Linked DNA regions of Homo sapiens: region 2 is linked to region 1. The links are contacts of gene promoters, found by promoter capture Hi-C in blood cells and fetal thymus (Javierre and others, 2016). All regions are on one chromosome and are shown on one strand. The core of a region is centred on a gene start or on the middle of the fragment in contact, and the rest is flanking DNA. Distances in the headings are between cores, read along the strand shown.

Evidence for each region. The method cuts DNA at HindIII sites, captures the fragments that hold promoters and counts their contacts. A CHiCAGO score of 5 or more calls a contact.
Region 2: a fragment that was not itself captured here is called in contact with the fragment with the promoter of SLC30A6 in region 1 in 2 of 17 cell types (total CD8 T cells and neutrophils); the score reaches 5.7 in total CD8 T cells.

What each region holds. Positions count from the first base shown.
Region 1 is chr2:32,161,876-32,169,353 of GRCh38, reverse strand. It overlaps SLC30A6 (solute carrier family 30 member 6), which reads right to left and starts at 3,490. Exons shown (of 14, transcript NM_017964.5): 1 at 3,451-3,490. The coding sequence starts at 3,453. It overlaps SLC30A6-DT (SLC30A6 divergent transcript), which reads left to right and starts at 3,615. Exons shown (of 1, transcript NR_185886.1): 1 at 3,615-4,313. RefSeq lists an enhancer at 1,654-2,170. The HindIII fragment of the contact is 4,145 bases long and covers 2,627-6,771 here.
Region 2 is chr2:32,441,992-32,449,469 of GRCh38, reverse strand. BIRC6 (baculoviral IAP repeat containing 6) reads right to left here. Exons shown (of 74, transcript NM_016252.4): 18 at 7,244-7,405; 19 at 7,015-7,146; 20 at 5,882-5,979; 21 at 3,802-3,949; 22 at 542-675. Among named protein-coding and RNA genes, the nearest start is that of MIR558, 86 kb to the left of the region's middle. RefSeq lists an enhancer at 1,628-2,205. The HindIII fragment of the contact is 4,466 bases long and covers 85-4,550 here.

The DNA of each region.
Region 1 (7,478 bases), core at 2,241-4,740:
AAATTGAAAAGAAAAAAATTAGCCAGGCATAGTGGTACATGCCTGTAGTCCCAGCTACTCAGGACACCAAGGTGGAAGGATCGCATGAGCCCGGGAAGTCAAGCAGTGAGCCAGGTTCACACTTTACTCAAGCCTGGGCAACAGAGCGAGACCCCATCTCGAAATAAATAAATAAATACATAAATAAATGTACATATGTATAAATATTATATATATGTGTATGTACATATGTATATATATTCTTTTCTTAAAGAATTATGTGTGAGTTATTTTGGTTCCAAAGATTTAAAAAATTCTCCTTAATACTGTTATTTTGGACATCTTCTGTTTAACCCTAGCCAACTTTAAGTTTCAGGTTAAGAGAATCAACAAGGTTTCTAAGAGGCAGAAAGCCACTTCTGATGCCATCCTGACAATGAAAATAAAACAAAAATCCTAATGTCATATCACTCTTCCCAAAATTATATTGGCTCGCCATTGCTATCAGAATAAACTACAAATTTTACAACCTGAATTTCCAGGTTTTCAATGACTTAGCCTGTTTCTTTCCAGTCTTATCTCTTACTCCAGATAGAAACCCTCAACTTCAGTTAAACTGGTCTACTCTTTTGTCTCATGACCACTCTTGCGTGAAAAGGCCAGATCTGTCTAACCCAAGCTCTTATTCATATAATGACAAACAAGTATTAGATTAAGAGTATTAGAGTGGGGCACAAAGTACTTAGTTTCATGTTTCACTTCTTAAATGAAGTCTTCCTAGATCATTCCAAACTATAGTGTTTTTTATGCCACTTATTTTGCATTAACCAAAGTAAAGCCTTCAACTTGTTACATTGCTTTGTAATTTTAGTAACTTCACTAATGACAAGGGCTATTTTCCTTTATATTTTGTTTTTATATACTTATATTTTTAATATTATATATTTATATTATTTATATTTTCTAAGAAGGCACTGTTTTCACACAGCATGTTAATAAACACAAAACCTTTTTCTCAATATTTTATTTTAAAATATTTATTTTAAAAAATAAACCTTAAATACTGTTTCCCTGCATGACTAATACTGATGTTTCAAGCATAAAGATATAGTGCCATAGGTTTTCAGTGCTTTATAAAACAGACGTTTTATTTGTATTTTTCTTTATATTTTCTAAGAAAGTACTGTTTTCACATAGCATGTTCTTAATAAACGCAAAACCTTTTCTCAATATCCTTTAAAATAAACCTTAAATACTGTTTCCCTGCATGACTAATACTAATGTTTCAAGCATAAAGATATAGTGCCATAAGTTTTCAGTGTCTTATAAAACAGATGTTTATTGAAAACTTCCTCTGGGCCAGGCACGCTACAAAGCTCTGGGAATTAGGGTGAAATACATAGGTCCTGCTCTCAATGAGCTTACAGTCTAGAAAGTGAGAAAGACAAATAAGTACACAACTTTAACATCGTCTGTAAGGATTACAGATGTTACTGGTAAAAAACACAAGAGATTCAAGTTTTACTTTCTTAAATTAGGGCTGTGAGTTAATGAAGGTGTATAATCTGAAAGACCTCTGAATTTTAAGTCTCTTATCCCTTTATCTTCAACTCCCTTCAAATCATCAGTATTATAGGCAAGTTAAGTTTCTATTGTATGTATTCGTTTTGTGCAGCTTTATGTAACAAAACTGGTGTGTGTGTGTGTGTGTTTGTGCATATAAAAGCACAAGGTACCACCAGAGCACAAAGGAGAAGCAACTAAGAGGATACTGGAACATGAGGGAAAGGTTCATGAAAAATAATTAAGGATATATAAGGGTTATTCTGATAAGGACAGCCGATAGAGAACAGAGAACAATTCTGGGGATGGAAGAGCATATGCAAATTAGGTACAAAGGCTCAATTAATACAGCATGATTTGCAAGCTATTCACTGTGGCTGAAATACGGATGTTGCATACATGTATGCATTAAAAAAAAAAAAAAAAAAAGAGTTTGTGGCCTGGCACGGTGGCTCACGCCTGTAATCCCAGCACTTTGGGAGGCAGAGGCGGGAGGATCACCTGAGGTCAGGAGTTCGCGATCAGCCTGACCAACATGGAGAAACCCCGTCTCTACTAAAAATACAAAATTAGCCAGGCGTGGTGGCGCATTCCTGTAATCCCAGCTGCTCGGGAAGGTGAGGCAGGAGAATCGCTTGAACCCGGGAGGCGGAAGTTGTGGTGAGCCGCGATCGCGCCATTGCACTCCAGCCTGGGCAACAAGAGTGGAACTCCGTCTCGAAAACAACAACAAAAAAAGAGGCTGTAAAAGTAAGAAGCTTGATAATGAGTGGCTTTGTATGCCATGCTAAACAGGACTTTATCTTGAGTGCTACAGAAAAAAAAAAAAGGAGAAAATTTGAGTAAGGGAGTGATGTGGTCAAATTTTAGAAATATAACTCTGGCTACAGGCTTCACAATGGTGAATGTTTTGAAGAAGAGCGTAACTGAAGGCTATTTGATCATTAGCCAAAAAGTGTAAACTTTTACCCATTTTCTGTGTGCAAAAGGATTACAGAAAATTTACAAAACATAAAGTGTGTGAATGAGGCATTTTCCCGACCATATCCACTTAAGTAAAAAACTTAGTACAGTGACAAAAGCTTAGGCACAGAAATGTGGTCTCTTTCTCATACGTAGGCTATCAATAAGTACTCCATAAATTTTTCTAATAAATGCATTTTCAAAAGGCACACGCCACTTGGACACTTCAAATCCCAACCAACTGCTTATCTTTAAAGTTCAGAGCTATATATTTGAGCTCTAAAGGCAAAGAATGACTAATTCTAACAAATTTGAGAGAAAACACCATATCCCAACAACCATAACGTCTACTGGGTCTTCCATTAGTTTCTACAAACCCAGAAATAAAGCAGCAATAAAATGTCCTACCAACACCTTGACTTTCTGTAGTTACTGCGCTTATGAAATTTGCTGCCGTAATCAGGCTACTTAATATTTAGTAAAGCCAAGTTGCAGAGTGAGACGTCTGCCCTAAAACCCTATTACTAACCTTTTTTTTTTTTTTCCGCTGGCGTTATCGCCACTGCTCTAAGAATCACTATTACAGTTGTTGCTGTGGACTTGTTTTCAGATCTTTTGTTGGTGGCCTAGTTGTTGACGCTGGCAAAAACTTTTATTACCTTAAAGAAATCTCGGCAGAGGGAAGTCAGAAACTCGCCAGGAGCTGAAAGCTCTGCCTGCAGCGGGGCCTAGATCGTGAGCGCCTGCGGAACAGGTGAGGGACCGAAAGGGACCAGAACTCTGAAGGGGAACATTTTGGGAGACAGCCGCTCCTGCCAAGGGGCCCGACTTCAACTCCAATGACCCCTCCTCTGGGTGGCTGAGGGATTTCAAGGTCGCTTCGGGACCAAATAAGATAAACCGAATCAGCTACAGCCGAAACCCTCACCCCAACAGCCAACTCACCATGATAAGGAGCTGCACAGCTCCCGCCGGAAGCCGTTCTGGGTGCTCGAGTTTTCCCAGAACGGAAGGGGTGGGGCACCAGTGGGCGATTGGCTGTGAGGAAAGCGTGGGAGGAAGTGCGTGCTCTGGCCTCCGGCTTCCGTCCCCTTCCCGGCTGTCCCTGCACTCCGTGGCGGAAGGCGGCTAGAGCGGCTCCCTCTGAGCTCTCCGAGAGATTGGTCGGGACCTGAAGCGTTGAGGTTAAGGGCAAGGCAAGGAGCAACGAGGAGTTTTTCGTTACGTTAGAAAAATTTCGTTGCGTGCTGAAGCGCTTTTACCTGTGTTGTATGATTTAACCTTATGAAAATGGACAGTATTCCAGTTTTACAAGTGAGGAAAGAAGATTAAGAAACTTGCCTCCGCCAGGCGTGGTGGTTCACTCCTGTAATCCCAGCACTTTCGGCGGCGAGGCAGGCGGATCACTTGAGGTCAGGAGTTCGAGACCAGCCTGGCCAACATGGTGAAACCCCGGCTCTACTAAAAATGCAAAAATTAGCCGGGCGTAGTGGCACGCGCCTGTAATCCCAGCTACTCTGGAGGCTGAGGCAGGAGAATCGCTTGAACCTAGGAGGCGGAGGTTGCAGTGAGCCGAGATCGCGCCACTACACTCCAGCCTGGGCGACAGCGCGAGACTCCGTCTCAAAAAAAAGAAACTTGCCTTGAGTCCTACATATAGTTTGCTGTAGTAGCAGAATTTGAACTCGGACCGACTAATGGTCTACTTAATAAAATGCTATTTGGATTCTCTATAAAATTAATAATATAGAAGTAATGTTAATTATAGAAAACTTGGAAAATATTAAATTCATTCGATAAAGATTGAATATGTAGCACGTGTGTTTGTCAGATACTGGTCTCGTGAAAATTATATTCTGGTAGGGAAGACAGAAAACAAGTAGGGATAAAGAAATTTTTAAAAGATATTCATAAGTAGTGTCGTGTAGAAAACTGGGTATAGGTTGAGTATCCTTCATCCCAAATGCTTAAGACCAGAACTGTTTCAGATTGTGGCTCTTTATCTTGGGGATGGGGCCAGAGGCTAAACTTGAAATTCATTTATGTTTCGTATACACCTTATGCACATAGCCTCAGGGTAATTTTATGCAATTTTAAAAATTGTGTGTGTATCAAACAAAATTTTGACTACAGCTTTTTACATGCGGTCAGGTGTGGAATTTTCCACTGTGGCATCGTGTTGATGATCAAAAAGTTTTGATTTTGGAGCATTTTAATTTCAGATGGTTGGATTAGGGTTGCTGAACATGTAATGGTATACAGAACAACTGAGTAGGTGTGGTGCTCACGTCTGTAATCCCAGCACTTTGGGAGGCCTAGGCGGGCGAATCACGAGGTCAGGAGTTTGAGACCAGCCTGGCCAACATGGTGAAACCCTGTCTGTACTAAAGATAAAAAAAATTAGCTGGGCGTAGTGGCGGGTGCCTGTAATCCCAGCTGCTAAGAAGGCTGAGGCAGGAGAATTGCTTGAACCCGGGAGGCAGAGGTTGCAGTGAGGCGAGATCGTGCCCCTGCTCTCCAGCCTGGGCAACAGTGCAACACTTCATCTCAAAAAAATAAATAAGAAGTAAAAAATAAATAAAATCGTAGGTATTATCATCTATCGACAATCTGTTCTCCACACTGCAGCCACAGTAATCTTTTTTAGTAGAGGAGAGGTCTTGCTATGTTGCGCAGGCTGGTCTGGAACTCCTGGGCTCAAGTGATCCTCCTGCCTCAGCCTCCCAAGATGCTAGCATTACAGGCATGAGCCAACACCCCTGTCCTATACCTAGGATTTAATGAACATTCAATATGTGGTAGGCAGTATTCTAAGAATTTGAGGCCAGGCACAGTGCCTCATGCCTGTAATCCCAGCACTTTGGGAGGCTGAGGCAGGCAGATCACTTGAGGTCAAGAGTTTGAGATCAGCCTGGCCAACATGGCAAAACCCCGTCTCTACTAAAAATATAAAACTTAGCCGGGTGTGGTGGCAGGCACCTGTAATCTCAGCTACTCGGGAGGCTGAGGCAGGAGAATTGCTTGAACCCAGGAGGCGGAGGTTGCACTGAGCTGAGATGAAGCCTGGGTGAGAGAGATTCCATCTCAAAAAAAAAAAAAAAAAGCCGGGTGCAGTGGCTCATGCCTGTAATCCCAGCACTTTGGGAGGCCAAAGCGGGTGGATCACGAGGTCAGGTTTTTGAGACTAGCCTGGCCAACATAGTGAAACCCCGTCTCTATTGAAAATAGCCAGGTGTGGTGGCAGGAGCCTGTAATCCCAGCTACTCAGGAGGCTGAGGCAGGAGAATCACTTGAACCTGGGAGGCAGAGGTTGCAGTGGGCCGAGATCGTGCCATTGCACTCCAGCCCAGGCGACAGTGCAAGACTCTGTCTCAAAAAAAAAAAAAAAAAAAAAAAGCACGATTATGTGTTAGCTCATTTAATCCTCATAACAGCCTTTGACATAGGTACTACTATTATCCCCTGCTTGGGAAAATCACACACCTAATCAGTGGCAGATTATAGACACGTGCCACCACGCCCGGCTAATTTTTGTATTTTTAGTAGAGTCAGGGTTTCACCATGTTGTGCAGGCTGGTCTCAAATGCCTGACCTCAGGTGATCTACCTGCCTTGGCCTCCCAAAGTGCTGGGATTACAGGCATGAGCCACTGCACCCGGCCTGGAGAGGTACCTTTAAACCATATAAATATCACATTCCTCATTATGCTTGTAATTTGTTTATGTTTGTATTCATATATTCACATGAGCTCATGGTTTATTTCTTCTGATGGGTTATAATTAATTACTACTATTACTTATTTTGATGCTCAAATTTGTCCAGTGGGAACCCTTTTAATCTGTGTGTCATTTCAATGATTCATCCTCATCAATCTTTGGGCACTTTTTCTCTCTGGCACAAGAAGTTCCACACTCATGTATTTTCTCTGCCCCAGCCCTGAATTTAGCCATTTTATCAAAGAGTCTTGGTTCCTTTAGTTGATGTTATGGACTGAATATTCGTGTCCCTCAAATTCATATGTTGAAGCCTTCACCAGCAATGTGATGGTCTTTGGTGATTCAGCCTTTGGGAAGTACCTAGGGTTAGATGAGATAATGAGGATGGGACTGTCATGATGGGATTAATGCCCTTTTAAAAAGGGACACCAGAGAGCTTGTGCTGTCTGCCATACAAGGACACGGTGAGAAGGTGGCCATCTGCAAGCCAGGAAGAAAGCCCTCACTAGAAACCAAACTGGCTGGTACTTTAATCTTGGACTTCCAAGCTTCTAGAACTGTGAGGATAAATTTCTGTTATTTAAGCTGCCCAGTCTATGGTATTTTGTAATGCAGCCCAAGCAGACTAAGACAGTGAAGAATTTGGAAGGCAAGATATGGGTACTTTATGTGCTCATTATTATTGGAGCATAACTGCTCCAAGGCCACCTTGGTGGACAGACTAGGGAATATACATATTTGGACACATACACACGTGTATATTTATATGCTTATATGTCCTCTATTTTTATTTGAGGCAGGATCTCGCTCTGTTGCCCAGGCTGGAGTGCAGTGGTGCGATCTCAGCCCACTGCAACCTCTGCCTCCCAGGTTCAAGTGATTCTCGTGCCTCAGCCTCCCAAGTAGCTGGGACTACAGGTGTGTACCACCACACCTGGCTAATTTTTGTATTTTTACTAGAGATGGGGTTTCGCAGTGTTGGCCAGGCTGGTCTCAAACTCCTGATCTCAAGCGATCTGCCCGCCTCGGCCTCCCAAAGTGCTGGGATTATATGCGTGAGCCACTGTGCCCAGCCGATATTTCATCTATTTTTATAGATTTTAAACCATGAATTCACTTTCTTAAACCCAATTCAAGCTGAACTCCAGGTTTCATTCTAGTTTCCCCCCTTTCTGTATTTATAATTACCTTCTCTGTGGTTAGTATATTCACTTTATTCCATCAAGTCTTTGGTGTGCAACCAATCTACCATCTCTG
Region 2 (7,478 bases), core at 1,068-3,567, 280 kb before region 1:
GATTATAAAAATAGTGTCATGCATACATCCGAAAAACACATTCTTTAGAAAGTATAAAAGGATATACGTAATGTATACAAAGCTTACCTCAAGAAAGTGACAGATGCAGAAAATTATCTTTTGTTTGTGCATCCTTATTACAGTAAGTATATATTACTAATTTTGTATTTTTGAAATAGGAAATCTTTTTTAACTTTATAGAGGCAGCAAAGATACATCAAATAAAACTGAAAAGGCTACAACAAATACATTTTAAATAGTCTCATAAGCATTAAAATCACACTGAAATGAAATGCATAACAAAAACAAAAAATTAAAGTCACAACCCTTTCAAATATGACTTTAATATACTGGGATTTTCTTCAGAGGGAAAGAGGAAGTTAAGAACTTCTAGGAAACATTTTAATAATTCATATGATAAGTTCTAAGGAATTTTAGTTTTCTAAAGACAAAACATCATGACTATAATCTATTAAGTCAAATGGCAACTTAAATCCAAGATACAACATTCAGAATTTCCTTTAATAAAAGAAATCACTACCTGAAAGGACATCTGATAAATCAATTTCATCTGACTGGACACCAATGCTGCTGTTATAAACATTTTTACAAGAAGAGCCACTCATCTCCAAATCAAAGAGGACTGGATCAAATGGTGAGCTATATAATCCATATCTGAAAAATAAAATAATGCACTAACAATTTTCCTTTCAGCCATCTAATTAACAAATTACCTTTACTTAGTTTTAAAAGCAGTCTGACTAACAGCGCAGAGGGCTCTCCCTCTCCCCTCTCCCCTCTCCCCTCTCCCCTCTCCACGGTCCCCTTCCACGGTCTCCCTCTGATGCCGAGCCGAAGCTGGACTGTACTGCTGCGATCTCGGCTCACTGCAACCTCCCTGCCTGATTCTCCTGCCTCAGCCTGCCGAGTGCCTGCCATTGCAGGCGCGCGTCGCCACGCCTGACTGGTTTTCGGTTTTTTTTGGTGGAGACGGGGTTTTGCTGTGTTGGCCGGGCTGGTCTCCAGCTCCTAACCGCGAGTGATCCGCCAGCCTCGGCCTCCCGAGGTGCCGGGATTGCAGACGGAGTCTCGTTCACTCAGTGCTCAATGGTGCCAAGGCTGGAGTGCAGTGGCGTGATCTCGGCTCGCTACAACCACCTCCCAGCCGCCTGCCTTGGCCTCCCAAAGAGCCGAGATTGCAGCCTCTGCCCGGCCGCCACCCCGTCTGGGAAGTGAGGAGCGTCTCTGCCTGGCCGCCCATCGTCTGGGATATGAGGAGCCCCTCTGCCTGGCTGCCCAGTCTGGAAAGTGAGGAGCGTTTTTGCCCGGCCGCCATCCCATCTAGGAAGCGAGGAGCGCCTATTCCCCGCCGCCATCCCATTTAGGAAGTGAGGAGCGTCTTTGCCCGGCCGCCCATCGTCTGAGAGGTGGGGAGCACCTCTGCCCCGCCGCCCTGTCTGGGATGTGAGGAGCGCCTCTGCCCGGCCGCCCCGTCTGAGAAGTGAGGAAACCCTCTGCCTGGCAACCGCCCCGTCTGAGAAGTGAGGAGCCCCTCCGTCCAGCAGCCACCCCGTCTGGGAAGTGAGGAGCGTCTCCGCCCGGCAGCGACCCCGTCCGGGAGGGAGGTGGGGGGATAGGGGGGCCCGCCCGGCGAGCGGCCCCGTCCGGGAGGTGAGGGGCTCCTATGCCCGGCCGCCCCTACTGGGAAGTGAAGAGCCCCTCTGCCCGGCCAGTCGCCCCGACCAGGAGGGAGGTGGGGGGGGTCAGCCCCCCGCCCGGCCAGCCGCCCAGTCCGGGAGGGGGGAGGGGGGGTCAGCCCCCTGCCCGGCCAGCCGCGCCGTCCGGGAGGGAGGTGGGGGGATCAGCCCCCCGCCTGGCCAGCCGCCCCGTCCGGGAGGTGAGGGGCGCCTCTGCCCGGCCGCCCCTACTGGGAAGTGAGGACCCCTCTGCCCGGCCAGCCGCCCCGTCCGGGAGGGAGGTGGGGGGATCAGCCCCCCGCCCGGCCAGCCGCCCAGTCCGGGAGGGAGGTGGGGGGTCAGCCCCCCGCCCGGCCAGCCGCCCCGTCCGGGAGGGAGGTGGGGGGATCAGCCCCCCGCCCGGCCAGCCGCCCCATCCGGGAGGTGAGGGGCGCTTCTGCCCGGCCGCCCCTACTGGGAAGTGAGGAGCCCCTCTGCCCGGCCACGACCCCGTCTGGGAGGTGTGCCCAGCGGCTCATTGGGGATGGGCCATGATGACAATGGCGGTTTTGTGGAATAGAAAGGCGGGAAGGGTGGGGAAAAAATTGAGAAATCGGATGGTTGCCGGGTCTGTGTGGATAGAGGTAGACATGGGAGACTTTTCATTTTGTTCTGTACTAAGAAAAATTCTCCTGCCTTGGGATCCTGTTGATCTGTGACCTTATCCCCAACCCTGTGCTCTCTGAAACATGTGCTGTGTCCACTCAGGGTTAAATGGATTAAGGGCGGTGCAAGATGTGCTTTGTTAAACAGATGCTTGAAGGCAGCATGCTCGTTAAGAGTCATCACCACTCCCTAATCTTAAGTACCCAGGGACACAAACACTGCGGAAGGCCGCAGGGTCCTCTGCCTAGGAAAACCAGAGACCTTTGTTCACTTGTTTATCTGCTGACCTTCCCTCCACTATTGTCCTATGACCCTGCCAAATCCCCTTCTGCGAGAAACACCCAAGAATGATCAATAAAAAAAAAAAAAAAAAAAAAAAAAAAAAAAAACAGCGCAGAGGGAGATGCTGACTAGATTTGACCCATCAAATTCAGTGAATCTCAACTATGTTCCCTGCAATCTATACTCTAAAAGACACTGTCCAGAGACTCAACAAATGTGATTCCAATAAGCTGGCAACTAAGGTACTAAGACTGCCACCTGCAGATTGAAGCGAGGGGTATCAGGCACCATTCTCTCCCGTGAATCATTACGACATAGCCTCAAGTACAAAGGCTTTGAGTAAAATGTCATCAAAATCAGAACATCTAACCTAGGAAATTATAAAATCACTGCTCTAAATAAAGGAACGCCTTACTTCAAACGTAGACAATCAGGCAAGAACTTAAATCTAACCTTTTGCTATTGCTTAATTCATCACGTTAGAAGTTTTGAAATACAAGTAGCAGGTAGAAGAATACTAGTTATGGGACAATAAGTGACTCACATAATTCCACCTATAAAGTGCACAGAGAAACAGACACATTACATTCTTCTTCCATTAGCAGGGCATACCACTTTTCATTATTAAATAAAATTAGCCCTCTGAATAACCATCATAAGGATTTATCAAACTGTTAAAGAGTAATTTCTGGCCGGGCACGGTGGCTCATGCCTGTAATCCCAGCACTTTGGGAGGCTGAGGCGGGCGGATCAACTGAGGTTGGGAGTTTGCGAACAGCCTGACCAACATGAAGAAACCCCGTCTCTACTAAACATACAAAATTAGCCAGGCCTGTGGTGCATGCCTGTAATCCCAGCTACTCGGGAGGCTGAGGCAGGAGAATCGCTTGAACCCGGGAGATGGAGGTTGTGGTGAGCTGAGATCACACCATTGCACTCCAGCCTGGGCAACAAGAACAAAACTCCATCTCGATAAAAAAAAAAAAGAGTAATTTCTGACAAAACAGAAGAAAGTAAAACCTCAGGCTATTATCGTATGGAAAAAGTAAGGTATAAACTAAACATTTTTGTAAGAAAAAGACTGTTATCAGCATATATATATTAAATAACAGTTCTCTGCAAAAGCGTGATCATACTCAGAGACGCCTATTATTAGTCATTAGATATACTAAAATACCTTGTCTGAAGTAAAGCCTCCATTGGTGTTAGCCTGTCCTGTAACTGTCTGGACACTGCAGTAAGCAAAGATGCACAAGCTGTACTGCATCCAGCCAGATCTTCATCTTTCACATAATTCAGTAAGACAAAATACCAATAGACAGAACCTGGAAACAATAAAAACAAAATAAATGTTTCTTTTTCCTCCTTTTCCTCTAACAATGAGAATTTAAGATTACCTATTTATCAGAATACTTCCTTTTGCTAGAAAGATACTCCCTTTTCTGGAAAGACAATCTTATAGGCAATTTACAAAGATAACTCCTTGGAGGGATCAAAGAGGACACTTAAAATATAAACAACACACTGAGGCACAGTCTTACACTAAGAATTTCAAATATTTCTGGAGAGTTTTATAAAGTCATTTAGGTGTATAATAATGTGTATTTATTTAGGTGTATAATAATGTGAGATGCCTCTGAGGGACACTTCGAAATAGCTGAAAAAGTGAGGAGACTGAAGGTCCTTCAAATCATCCTTACCAACATACTGTTTCTCTGTACTAAACTTTAAAAAATAGTGGATGGCAGTGAGCTTCAAACAGCCCATTTTAGTGAATGAATGGGGAATAAAATTATTCTATAATGCGTTAGGTACAGATCGACATTGCTTAAAAGATTATCATGACAGTGTATTTTTACTTTTATTAACTGCTACATACATGCCAAAACTTAAGCGTCCCAACTTTAAAACTATCCTTAAGAAGCTTTTAAACATTAGAGACTATCGTAATGAGCAACTGAGTCAAAATGTTCTATTCCATAGAGTTAATGGTTGTAGCCAAAATATGTTCAATGTAAATATAAACACGCTTTACCTAAATTAAGAAAATGATATAACTTTTCAACAACTCTAAACAAGCATTTTTTTTGTTTAACACAAAGATGAAATCTTTATGAAATATATAACTCACTGAGGTAACTTGTTGAATGGGTTGTTTTTTTAAACTCCTGGCCTCAAGCAATCCTCCCTCCATGGCCTCCCGAAGTGCTGGGATTACAAGTGTGAGCCACTGTGCCCAGCCTGAATGGTTTGTTTTTTAATAAAACAGATTGTGAAAAATGTCTATCAATAAATAAAATTTGGCTTAAAAGGCCAAGTTAGTAGCCCTTCATAGTAACACCATGTACTAGCAAAAACAGTAAGAATCTTTAAAAATCTTCATTACCTTATATATGTGCTATTTTAGAGAACTGCTTTATGAATTCCTACTTGATAACTACCTTCATTCTTTTTTGATACATAATAATTGCACATATATAGGGGGTATATGTGATGTTTTGAAATATGGATGCAATGCACAATGATCAAACCAGGGTATTTAGGATATCCATCACCTCTCTGCATTGGGAACACTTTAAATCTTTTAACTATTCTGAAATATACCACAAATTACAGTCACCCTACTGTGCTATCAAACACTAGAACTTATTTCTTCTAACCATATGTTCATACTAATTTATCAACCTCTCTTCAAATCCCACTCACCCTCCCAGACTCTGGTATCCATCATTCTACTCTCTACCTCCAATTACATTCATTCTTGAAAGGCATTTCCACAGAGTCCTCAGGTGCTTTAAAAAAAAAAAAAAAAAACCACTGGTCCCTTTTAGGAAATTCCAGTTTGCCATAGTCCCTACCAATCACACAAAACATATGCATGTGCAATGACACCTGGACCGTTTTACTTATTTATGTCACCTCCCTGGCACATGCTGGAATTCTGGTTTCTGGCATCTGATCTGTTACAGTCAGTAAACAACCAAACAACTCAATGATTGTAATGAAGTACAGAAAAATAGTTATGAATTGAGATGACTTGATATTAACGTAACTGCTCCATGAACCTTTTCCTTGGAGTACTATTGACGGAGTATATGACCACCCAGCTACAATCTATCGATCCCTTCAAAAAATACAGATAAGCCACAGAAAAGTGAACTTTAATAGAGAAAAAGTAGTTATGAAATAATCCTAAGTATACATATGAGATGTTCCATATGACTATAACTATTTGTGATTAAATTAATTTTACATACCACCAGTTGTTGCTGCAGGTAAAAATGACATATTATCAAGTAAAGCCTTCAACAGAACAGGTCCAAATGCTGGTTGACATGGGTCACATTTGCCATTACTGAAAAATTTTTAAAAAGAAAAATTGTAAAGACATTACTCAAGGTCTAAATTCAACCCTAAACCTGGTGTGGTACCTAAAAATCTTTAAAATGTATTCTATACCGATTAAAAGAAAAACCTGCCTTAAAGCTATATAAAATACCAAAAGATAGCGGGAACTGATTATACTAAGGAGGGTTGTAAATATTTTCTTATGCATTAAACCCTTATCTTTACAACAGTCAATACTGACCATTAGCTCTTAGACACTTCCTAGATACAGTAGCAAGTAGGAACCTTTAAACATTAAGAACCCGTATATGCAGTTTCAATTTCTAAAGTTTCAGTTACACATGGTCAAGTGCAGTCTAAACACAGGTGAGTACAGTACAATAAGACATGTTGAGAGACCACATTCATGTAACTTTTATCATAGTATATTATTATAACTGTTCTATTTTATTAGTAGTTATTGTTAATCTCTTACTATGCCTAGTTTATAAATTAAACTTTATTGCAGGTATGTATATATAGGAAAAAACAATACTATATATATGGCTCAGTACTAGCTACAGTTTCAGGTCTCCACTGGGGAGGGGAGGGGTCTTGGGACACATGCCCTGGGGATCAGGGCAGACTGTTCTAATTTGTTTCAGGGTTTAGAAAAAAAGGGTCTGCACAATGCTACAAAAAAAAGTCGGTAAGATTGTTACATAACAGAGAAAACACTTTAGGGCAAGAAAAGACAACCAAGGAAAGTAGGAGTGAAAAGGGTTTAAGAGTTCCCTTGCCAAATTCTCCAAACTGCTACTAACAGGCAGAGAAGCTCAGCAGACTTCTTTTCTTAAAAGTTAAATAGACTTATTTAACATGACACTTTCCCCTAAGAACCCAAAATTCTTGCTAAGATTATCAACAATCTTCATCAACTTTTGAAATTCTCTTAAATTATACATACATTAAACAAGGATCAAATCACACTATAAACAAGGTATCACCCACTAAATTGCAGGTGTACCTAGAAAGTATGCTTTCAACTTAAAAACATACCAACCTAATGCACAAGGCTAGAAATCGGGCACACTTATGGGCTATACTTCGTCCTGCCTCAAAGAAGCAAACACGTACGATGTCTGACAGAAATTTTCGTGTTTTTGAAAGTAGGTTCTCATTTCCTTCCTTTGAGCTGCAAAACAATAGCAGACATTTAGACTCATCCTGAACTTTCAATCATAACATCTAAAAGGCAATCAACAGTGGTAAGCAAAATTTTAATTATTAACCTTCCGGGTCCATTTGAATGAACTCCAGCTAACCAACAGAGAGTATCCAACACAAGGCTCTGGGCATGTTCTGTGATCTGGCCATCATCTGTTTTTCTGCAAAGAGTATTAAGAAGCTTCTCATGAAATTCTGAAAACTGTAACATGGCACATCGTTGCACTCTACAAAAAAAGAAAATATAAACACATTACCAAACAAAACAGAACAACTAAAGCTATCACAACCTGGCTGGAA